2 separate regions of the Homo sapiens genome follow, and region 1 is linked to region 2. The links are contacts of gene promoters, found by promoter capture Hi-C in blood cells and fetal thymus (Javierre and others, 2016). All regions are on one chromosome and are shown on one strand. Each heading gives the region's core, a stretch centred on a gene start or on the middle of the fragment in contact. The rest is flanking DNA. Distances are from core to core; before and after follow the strand shown. Region 1 holds the start of VCP (valosin containing protein). Region 2 holds the start of TPM2 (tropomyosin 2).

Region 1 (4,419 bases), core at 1,795-4,294, 620 kb before region 2:
TAGCTGGGATTACAGGCATGCGCCACCACACCTGGCTAATTTTGCATTTTTACTAGAGATGGGGTTTCACCATGGTGGTCAGGCTGGTCTCGAACTCCTGACCTCAGGTGATCTGCCCACCTCGGCCTCCCAAAGTACTGGGATTACAGGCGTGAGCCACAGCACCCAGCGCTCTCTCTTTTTTAAGAGCGGCCTCGTGTTAGTAAGGCTCAGGAAAACATAAGCATTAACCAAAGTAGGAAGGCCAGACAATGAAGGAAGCAAAGAAAATAAATTTTTAAAACGAATTTCTTCATTCAACAAATTCATGAGTCTCTATTATGTACCAGGCATTGTTCTAAGGGCTGGGGATACTGAAGTCAACAAAACAAGACAAAATAGTATTCCCATTGGAAATATCCTCACAATTTGCAAGAGACAAAGAAAAATGCTGTGCTCAGCTAGGAAGCCATGGGGTTCTTACATCTTTGGGTCCTGATACACCCAAGAGAAAAACAAACCCCATTCATCTAACAAAATGGTAGGCCTTCTGCTAACCCTCACACATAGGCTGCATTTTTAACCACTGCCTCTAAACTAGTTTCTAACGACAGTTTCCTCTGCTCAAATTTGCTTCCCCCATTCCAAAAGTCTGCCACTCCAGGCACAATGCTGCTGAGTAGGCAGACTCTTCCAATGCTTATCAACACACTAGAGGCCAAGCATGCTCAATGTGACAGTTGAGAGCAATGTAAACCCACGAGCTCTCCCACTCCTGTCCCATCAAAATACTCTTCCAGGGACTGCCCATCTTCTTGCTTGACTTATAGAACTGGGACTGGAGAAAAATAAAACGCCAGATGCCTCTAGTCACCATAGTTTTTTATTTTTTGAAACGGAGTCTCCCTCTGTTGCCCAGGCTGGAGTGCAGTGGCGCGATCTCCCTCACTGCAATCTCTGCCTCCCTGGGTTCAAGTGATTCTCCTGTCTCAGCCTCCAGAGTGGCTGGGACTACAGGTGTGCACCATCACCATGCCTGGCTACTTTTTGCATTTTAATAGAGATGGGGTTTCTCCATGTTGCCCGGGCTGGTCTCAAACTCCTGACCTCAAGTGATCTGCCTGCCTCGGCCTCCCAAAATGCTGGGATTACAGGCCTGAGCCACTGTGCCCGGTCAATAGTTTGTATTTTAATCTCAAAGCTGTATCCTAGGAAAACCTCCATTCTGCCTACCATCCCGGACTCTGGCTCTGGAGATGAGTGGTATGCCCTTTTCTTAAGGTAAAGCCTCTAATTCCCCATCTACCTACTGAGATCAGATGTGGTAATCTCTAAAAGACTGAATTTGGCCTGACCATGGGCCAACAGCAGTTCTGGACACTCTTTGGGGCAATCCTCCATTGTCTTCTGTATAAGTCAATCCCTTTCCAGAACTGCACAGGGGACTCCACGGGACTTGGAAGGGTTTCAGCTAAGAGTCATCAAGGTGACCAAGAGGTTAGAAACAGCTGATGATGCCAGGTTCCAAGAATTTTAGATTTTTACTTTTGAAAATAAGAGGCTGACTGCATATAAACCAAAAGAATACTTTCAGAATAAGTGACTCTTTTAAATAAGCAACTGAGTAATACTTTATCCGAATTCAGAAACTTGAGAAAAAGGAACACACCTCAAAAAACTAATCTCTTCAAGGAAGGAAGGTAATTTGCATAGAGTTTCCTTGGGCTGGCTGTGTTTTTTTTTTTTTTTTTTTTTTTTTTTTTGCCTCTAAAAGCTCTCTATTCTAAATTGAATGGGCTGAGGTAGCCAAGTTTTATCTAACGCTTTCCTAAGGATGGAGGTGGGGTCAGAAAGCCCCAGAGCCCGGGTAATTTCTCAATATAGCTGGTTGGGGAAAGGAGTGCGCGCACGTTTGTGTTTTTGAAGAGTTAGTGCAACTCTAAACTGCACACCACGAAACCTGGAAATCTGGAAAGGCGCACAAAACACGAACTGAGATTCCAACTTTAGCAAGAACCTAAAATGTTAAAGAAAAATTCCTTTCTCCCCACCCACGAGTCATAACATTAAGGAAAACTGGCTCAAACTTTCTAGTATGAACAACAGGCCTAAAGTAAGAAGACCAGAAGCGAAAGGTAGGGCTCGCCCTCTCCCTAACAGTCCTTCACGACTCAGGTCACACACAGAGGATGCCCACCTCCGGCCCCGCCGACCCGGCTCCAAAAAGGCGGCTGTGAGCTTCCCTGAGCTCGGCGGGCCTTCCCCGACCCCGGGCTCCGCCTCGGTGGCAGAGCTCCTGAGGCCTTCACATGGCGCAAAGTCCACGCCCACCGGGCCCGGCTGGGGCCTCGGGCTCGCGGGGCCTGCTCTCTCCGGGGACCAAAGGCTTTCGGCGGGTGGTAGGCCGGACGGCAGACTGGCGCCCCAAAGCCCCGGGGCGCCGCGCCGGCGGAGTGGGCCGGAAGACCTGGCCAGGCCCAGACGTCCGTTCTAAGGGAGCCAATCGGGCGGGCCGGGGCCTGCATGACACAGCACGATCCGGCCCAGGCTCCGACCCGGACCCAACGCAAGCCCCGCCTAGGGGGCGCGCGGGTGCGCAGCTGGCCCCAGCCGGGCCTGCCGGGTCCACGGCCCCTCACTCGCCCCCTAGCTTCCCTTCCCTCTTTCCTGGTCTCCACCTCTCTGACGCGCCCACGGCCAGGCCCCGCCGGGCCTACCCTGCGCGGCTGGTCCCGGTGCGCGCCGCCGCAGCAAGCGAACGGCGCGCGCACACTCACTCGGCTCCAGAAGCCATGGCGCGCGCCTCTCCCGGCCGGCGGCTGTGGCGGCCCGCGGGTAACGGCTACGAGCGGTGGCAAGCGACCGACTGGGCCGGGGCTCGGCTCTTCCAGGCGGTGGGCGAGCAGCGGCGACAAACCCGCAAGCGGCTTCCCTCTCGCTTCCTCCCACCGGCAGCGAGGCGTCGGGCGAACAACGCTGGCTCCTGATCCGCGAGGTGGCAGTGGCAGTGGCAGCGGCAGCGGCAGCGACGACTCAAACGACGGTCGCAGACGCTTCGCTGAGACTGAGCCGAGAAGAGCCGAATCATCGGAAGGGAAGCTGCTCCCACCTCAGCCAATCAGCGCCTGCCCTGCGGACTCTCGCCCGCCTCTCCGCGCCTCTCCCCAGCAACCCGCAGATCACAGCCAATCAGGAAATTCGCTTGCGGCCTGGCTCCCGCCTCAGTGATGCGACACGCCTAGTAACGCCACGTCAATTGGCCGCAACGCTACGCTTCCTCGACGGATTGGAATTCTCAGCCAATCAACGAAAGGAATAGGGCGAGATCGATTAGTGAAAGGAGACCCTTTAATCCCTTAGAGGCGGACTCTCCCACTTGGCTCCAGTTCATTGGCTCCGGAGTTTATCCTCCTGGAAGAACGTGGCACAATAGACTGAACCCTTGTATTAGTCTAGTCCTATTGTGGTAACCCATACACCCATCTTCTCCCAAAACCTGGAGATCTTCTAAGACGCCATCACCACCCTGACACTTCTTGCTCCTTCTCAACGCTGCCTCCAACCACCCCTACTCTGAACTTTCTGACTAGCACCCCACTCCTACCCCATTGTCACTGCACCCTCTGGTAACCCCAATCCCACAGCCTTTGCAGTTTCTCAGCGCTTGTGCCTTTCTTCCTCCCGTCATTAATATTAATACCTTATAATAAGGCACTCAAATCCAGAGAAGTCAAAGGGCAACCACAGAACACACAGCCAATTCAGTAGAACCCAAATTAGCAAGAAAACTGCATATGCTGGGACTTGAAAATCCTTGGGCCCCAAATAACAGGGGTCCCTGTTAGTAGTCAACAGGCAGCTGTTGGTGATATGCTGACTCAATTCACCTTTCACCCTGTACCCACACAGACACATTTGACTAAGACGAGTCGAATTTCTAGAATTTGGAATTAGGAAGGGAGTGAAGAGTTACTCTGAGAGAAACCTGCCTGTCTCTAAGTAACAGGTACCTGCCCTTGTCCTGAGAGGCCTATCTAGACCACCCTTCAGACCCAACTCCACTCATTGTCACTGTCCTGGGCTTTGGGGCTCTGCATTCAGGCAATGTGAAGGACTAAAGCCACTGCCTCCAAAGTGAGGATTCCTGTAGCCCTTTCCTCATACCCAGACTTCAAGTTCATAAGGTAGACGATGTCAGGAAAGGGCATCATAGACAACTAGCACTCAACTAGACGGTCACAAGCCTTCCCACGCAAGTATATGTAGTAGGCAGACGAGATAAATATGAAATTTTACTCGACAACAGAAAAGGAGAAACAGGAAAAAAGGTGCCTCGAGCAAAGTCAATGACTTGGTGGTGGCAGAGATTGTTTCCTCCAAAACGAGAATGGTAGTAACTAGGGCAAATTTCACAGGCCTACCACCAATCTCACCAGTCCA
Region 2 (4,828 bases), core at 1,003-3,502:
GACAGCATTGGGGGTTGGGAAGAATCACTGTGGGGGACATTGGAGTACTACCCTAGAGAGAGGTGAGACTGTAAAAGAAAAACTCTGCATGATGGTGGGGTGACAAAAGACTCTGGAAAGTTTGGGAAGTCCTGGGGTCCTCATCATGGGACTGATATGTGCCATTTCCTGCCTCTCAAGCTCTTCCCAGTTACGGGGGCGGCTCTCTAACCACAGGACAGGCACTACTGTCCCCATTAGAAAAATGGGAAGCAAGAGAGAGGGAGAAACTGAGGCACCATGTAAGTTGAGTGCTGTGTTCAAGGTCACCAGGAAGCTTGGGCAGTCTTTCCTATCTGCTCCTGGTGCTGCGGCTCTGCCTCCCCAGCTCTGTCCCTGTCCCCCCTGCCCCTCCAGCCCCCACCAGCAACTTGGGTTTCCAATCTTGCCTCCAGCTGCACTGGGCCTTGGTTATTTATAGAGTGTCAGATGCCCAGGGTTGTCTGTGCTAGCAGCTGCAGGTCAGCTCCCTCCCAAGTGCCAGGACTGGTGGAGAACCAAAACTGGAGGCTGGAGGTCACAGAAGCCCAACCCCTGGGGGGCTGGGAACATGAGCAGTCGACACAAACAGCTATGTCATCTCTGATGTTCAGACCATGCTTTATGCTAATCTAACCATAGGTTCATCTTAAAACAATCCTGGGTGGAAGGAAGATGGGGAAACTGAGGCAGAGAATGGGGAAACTACCACCACACCAAAGCCATATGGCCATTCTCCTACCTTAAGCTGGGGGTTGGGAATGGCAGGAAGTGAAGTCTGGTTGGGGTTGTGGGGTGGGCAGAGAAATCTCAGGGTAAATGACCTGCCAAGGTAGCTGCTTTGGCATTTGTGGCCCTGTCCCTCTGCCCTGTGGCCTGGCATGGTCTCCAGGCTGACAGCTTAATGAGGGTAAATGAGGAGCCATTAGAACCTGAGCTGGGGCCCCAGGGCACAGCAGGGCTGCTGAAGCCAGAGGTCAAGGCCAGGGAATTTCTAATGGCCCCTTAGGGTTGTAACTCAAGTGGGGTCTCATCTCTGGATCCCTCTCCCTCCTCCTGCAGGCTAGTACCTCACATCCACATCCCCCCATCCCCAAACGGCTGCAGTCTCCTCTCCAATTTCAGCTGGAGGATTAATTGAGGTAGATGGTAAATTCTTATACCTTCCACCCCCACAATGACTCATTGCTTGATCACTGTACATTCTAAAAGCTGGAACCAAACAGAATTACAGGGCTAAGTCCTCTGGGGGAAGTGGTAGGTGGTTTTGATTTATCCACTGTCTTGGATTACTTGTGTAAGTTTACCCTAGCCCTGGTTACTGAGATGAAACCATTTCTCTCCTGGCGCTGGGGACATAAGGGGATAAGGTGCCCCAATCCTCTTATTCCCATACCCGGGGGGCCCCTTCCCAGAGCCCTAACTCCTCCCATTGTCCCCCAAGTCCACACTCACATCAGTGGCCTTCTTCTCGGCCTGCTCCAGTTTCTCCTGGGCCTCCTTCACGGATTCAGAATACTTTTCCACCTCATCCTCTGTCCCCTTCAGCTTCTTCTGGAGGGCCTGCTGCTCCTCCTCCAGCTGGGACAGAGGGGACTTGGTCAGCCAGGCTGGGAGGGGGCCCAGGCCCAGAATGGAGACGCGGTGTGTGTAGGGGCGCTACTAAGATTTGGAGGCTACTGGGATGGAAGCGGAATAACATAAAAGGGACAGTACAGTCAAGGGTACTGGTGGGACCCGTTGAGGGTACAGAGAAAACTTCAGGCCCCAAGGAGCAGGACCAACCGCGCTCTGCAAAGGCAGAGTGGAAACCAGGGGCCTGGGGCTTCCCCAGGCTATTGTAGGGGAGAGAAGCGGCTCTGGCGAAGGCCCTGAGGGTACTGCGAAGGCCCAGCCCCCACCCTGGGTGAGAGAGAGCCTTGGCGGGCAGGCCCGGGGCTGGGGGACCCATGGCAGCGGCCCACCCTTGCCCTAGGCGCGGGGAGAGCAGGCTGCACTGGGCCCGGCCCTAACCTGCTTGCAGCGGTCCTCAGCTTGCTTCTTGTCGGCTTCGGCCTGCTCGGCGCGGTCGATGGCGTTCTCCTTGTCCAGCTTCAGCATCTGCATCTTCTTCTTGATGGCGTCCATGGCTGCGGTGGGGGGTGGGCCGGCCGGCAGGCGGTGAGGACCGGACGGACTGGGCTGGGTGAGCGGACTGGGTGCACCGGTGGCAGGCGAGGAGGACGGAGCGGGACTGGGACGTCCCGGCCACGCGGGCGCCTAAAAGGCGGGGAGGGACCGGGCGGGGCCGGCAACCAGGACCCTCCCCCACCTCGGCCCAAACCTTGTAGGGGCAGAAGCACGGCCCGGCCGGGGGGTGCGGCCGCCCCCTTCGCCCACCCACTGGGGACCGCCTCCCTTGGGGTCCCGCCCCCATCCCCCTCTTCCCTGCCAGCCGTCGGAGGAAAAAGTGGCCGACGGTCGGCTGGAAAAACCCCGGCGATGCGAAGGGGAGGGGACCCTTGGGCTGGGGGCTCCGTGCTTCCTCTGAGTGACAGCCGGACCCAGTGGCAGCTGCGGCTGGGGCCCCTGGGGCTATTTCGGGGCGTGAGCTCACGGCAGCTGCCCGGGCGCAGGGACCGGCGTGCCCCCCCTCAGCTGCAGCAGCCGCTACCCTTAATTTAGAAGTTTCCTGCAAATCCCCCCGGATTAAATGTCTCTCGGGAGGCGGAGCTCCTCGGCAGTTTGAGTGCCTCAGTTTACCCTGAGTCCCTCTAGGTTTGCGTTATCGACGTGGTGGTAGTAGCGGAGTCTCATCGGGAGCTTGGGGAAACTGAAGCAGGAAGCGAGCCCAGAGCCCCGGTCGCGGTGGGGAGTGTGGCCGGGCTTGCTGCCCCCAGGACCGGCCTGACCTCTCATCCCCTCGCCTCCCCTCCCAGCCCCTGCCCCTGGAGCCAGGCCCTTCCTGCGAGCACCCGGCGGCTCAGGACCCAGCTCCCCGCCCCGCCCCCCACGTGCCCCGCATATTTTCCACGCGGCTGCGGCCAGGCTGGTCACCGCGCGTTCCCCGCCCCCGCTCCCACCCGGACGCGTCCCGAGCCCCTCCGCTCCCCGCCCCTGGCTCCGCCTGGCCCCACTCCCCTCCGCGCGCCTTCCCTCTTCTCCCCCGCTCCCCGCGGACGCTCCTCTCTTTCCCAGTGGGCCAACTTTATGCTGAAATTTCTTTTCTGCCCTTTTTTGGGATGTTTCCCCATTGGGAGGCGGAGCCGGGCTGCGGCGGGGAAGGCGGAGGGCGAGGGGAAGAGTCACTGAGCTGCGGGGCATAGGGGGTCCGGGGCGAGGTGCCTTCTCCCACCCAGGCCGCCAAACCAGCGCCGGAGCCGGGTCGTGGGGTCTGGGAGTCGGAGGCGCGAGGCGCGAGGGTGTTTGTTTTCGTTTTTCCCTGGGGTGGGGTGGGGGGAAAGGAAGTGGAGAGCCGCCGGGAGGAGGGGGAAGGGGAGGAGAGAACAAGCGGAGGAAGCCGGGAGGGAGCTGCTAGCCTCGCCCCCACCCTCCAGTCATAGAGGGGCGGGAGGCCTGGATTTTGCAGTGGGCTGGGGACCGTGGGAACCCGAGGCCGCTGGCCGGGGCGGTGGGGAGGTGGCGTGGAAATGCATTCAGATCTGTTTAGCTGCCTGCTAGCCACACGGAGAGCAACCCTGGCCTGACCTCGCAGTGTTCCTCTAACTCCGTGGAAGACGCCTCATCCACCAGTAGCCTATGCTAGACCACTGGGTATCCCCTGCCCTTCGCGTCTCACAACCACCTAATCCTGGAGAGGCTGCCTTCTACCAAGGAGGTTCCTCCTCGGGTCGGTCTGGGCTGGCCTCTGGCCGCGCCTTATGTTTTCTTCAGTCTGTTTTGTAGTCTTACTTCTAGTTCCTCAACTCATTCATTCATTTGACTGTCCCATGACATTGTTGTCAAATATCTTTTTAAAAGTTAATGCGAATATTATCTAAAATTCTCCAAAACCCCTCCCTAATCCCTGTCCCCCCACCTTTTTTGAGACGGGAGCTTGCTAGATTGCCCAGGCTGGTCTTGAACTTATGGGCTTAAGTGATCCTCCCGACTCAGCCTCCTGAGTAGCTGGGATTACAGGCGTGCGGGCACCCTGCCTGTTTTGAGGAGAAAAAAAAAATCCACATTTCTTAATATGGTATAGAAGGCCCGTTGTTTTGGCTGTTGCCTGCCTCTCTGGCCTCATCTCCTTCCATGCCCAACCTCACCCCCAGTATTCATACTTGTACCTCATGCTGCATTCATAATGAGCTACGTGCAGGAGCTGGAAATAGCCATACTTTTCTTAAAGCTTCCACAGTTTATGCATTCTGTTCTCTCTCCCTAAAATGCCCATCCCCTTGGCTGATTCCTGGTGGCCTTTAAGACTCAGTAAGTGTCAGCTTTTCTGGGAAGCCTTCCCTGGCCACTTCTCTTCCCACCGCCTCACCTAATAGGTGCGTGTTCTTGGTGCGGGCTCTCACCCTCATCCTAGTCCCATGGTATAACTGTTCTTATACCGGTTTGGCGCCTCCGCCGGTCTGTGAGTCCTCAACAGAAACGACTGTTCTCAATTCTGAATCCCCAAGGCCTATCACAGCACCAGGCATAGAGTTGGCACTTCATGAACATTTGCCAGATGAGTTTTTTATGTACCAGTTTCTGGGTACTTATCAAATATACTAATACGGTGTGGGTCTTTTGGTCTTAGAACCCATTACACTCTTAAAAAGTATTGAAGACCCCCAAACAGCTTTTTTGTTGAAGTGGGTTATATCTACCAATAGTTGCC

The links. Contacts are between HindIII fragments. The CHiCAGO score rates a contact against its expected background, and 5 or more counts as called.
Region 1: a contact is called between the fragment with the promoter of VCP here and the fragment with the promoter of TPM2 in region 2, in 1 of 17 cell types (monocytes). The highest score is 5.0, in monocytes.

What each region holds. Positions count from the first base shown.
Region 1 is chr9:35,069,581-35,073,999 of GRCh38, forward strand. It overlaps VCP (valosin containing protein), which reads right to left and starts at 3,045. Exons shown (of 17, transcript NM_007126.5): 1 at 2,757-3,045. The coding sequence starts at 2,773. It overlaps FANCG (FA complementation group G), which reads right to left. Exons shown (of 14, transcript NM_004629.2): 14 at 4,259-4,419. RefSeq lists a silencer at 2,123-2,752 and enhancers at 3,153-3,202, 3,403-3,542, 3,563-3,612. The HindIII fragment of the contact is 17,727 bases long and covers 1-4,419 here.
Region 2 is chr9:35,687,673-35,692,500 of GRCh38, forward strand. It overlaps TPM2 (tropomyosin 2), which reads right to left and starts at 2,253. Exons shown (of 9, transcript NM_003289.4): 1 at 2,032-2,253; 2 at 1,474-1,599. The coding sequence starts at 2,145. RefSeq lists an enhancer at 218-695 and a silencer at 3,591-3,670. The HindIII fragment of the contact is 4,032 bases long and covers 315-4,346 here.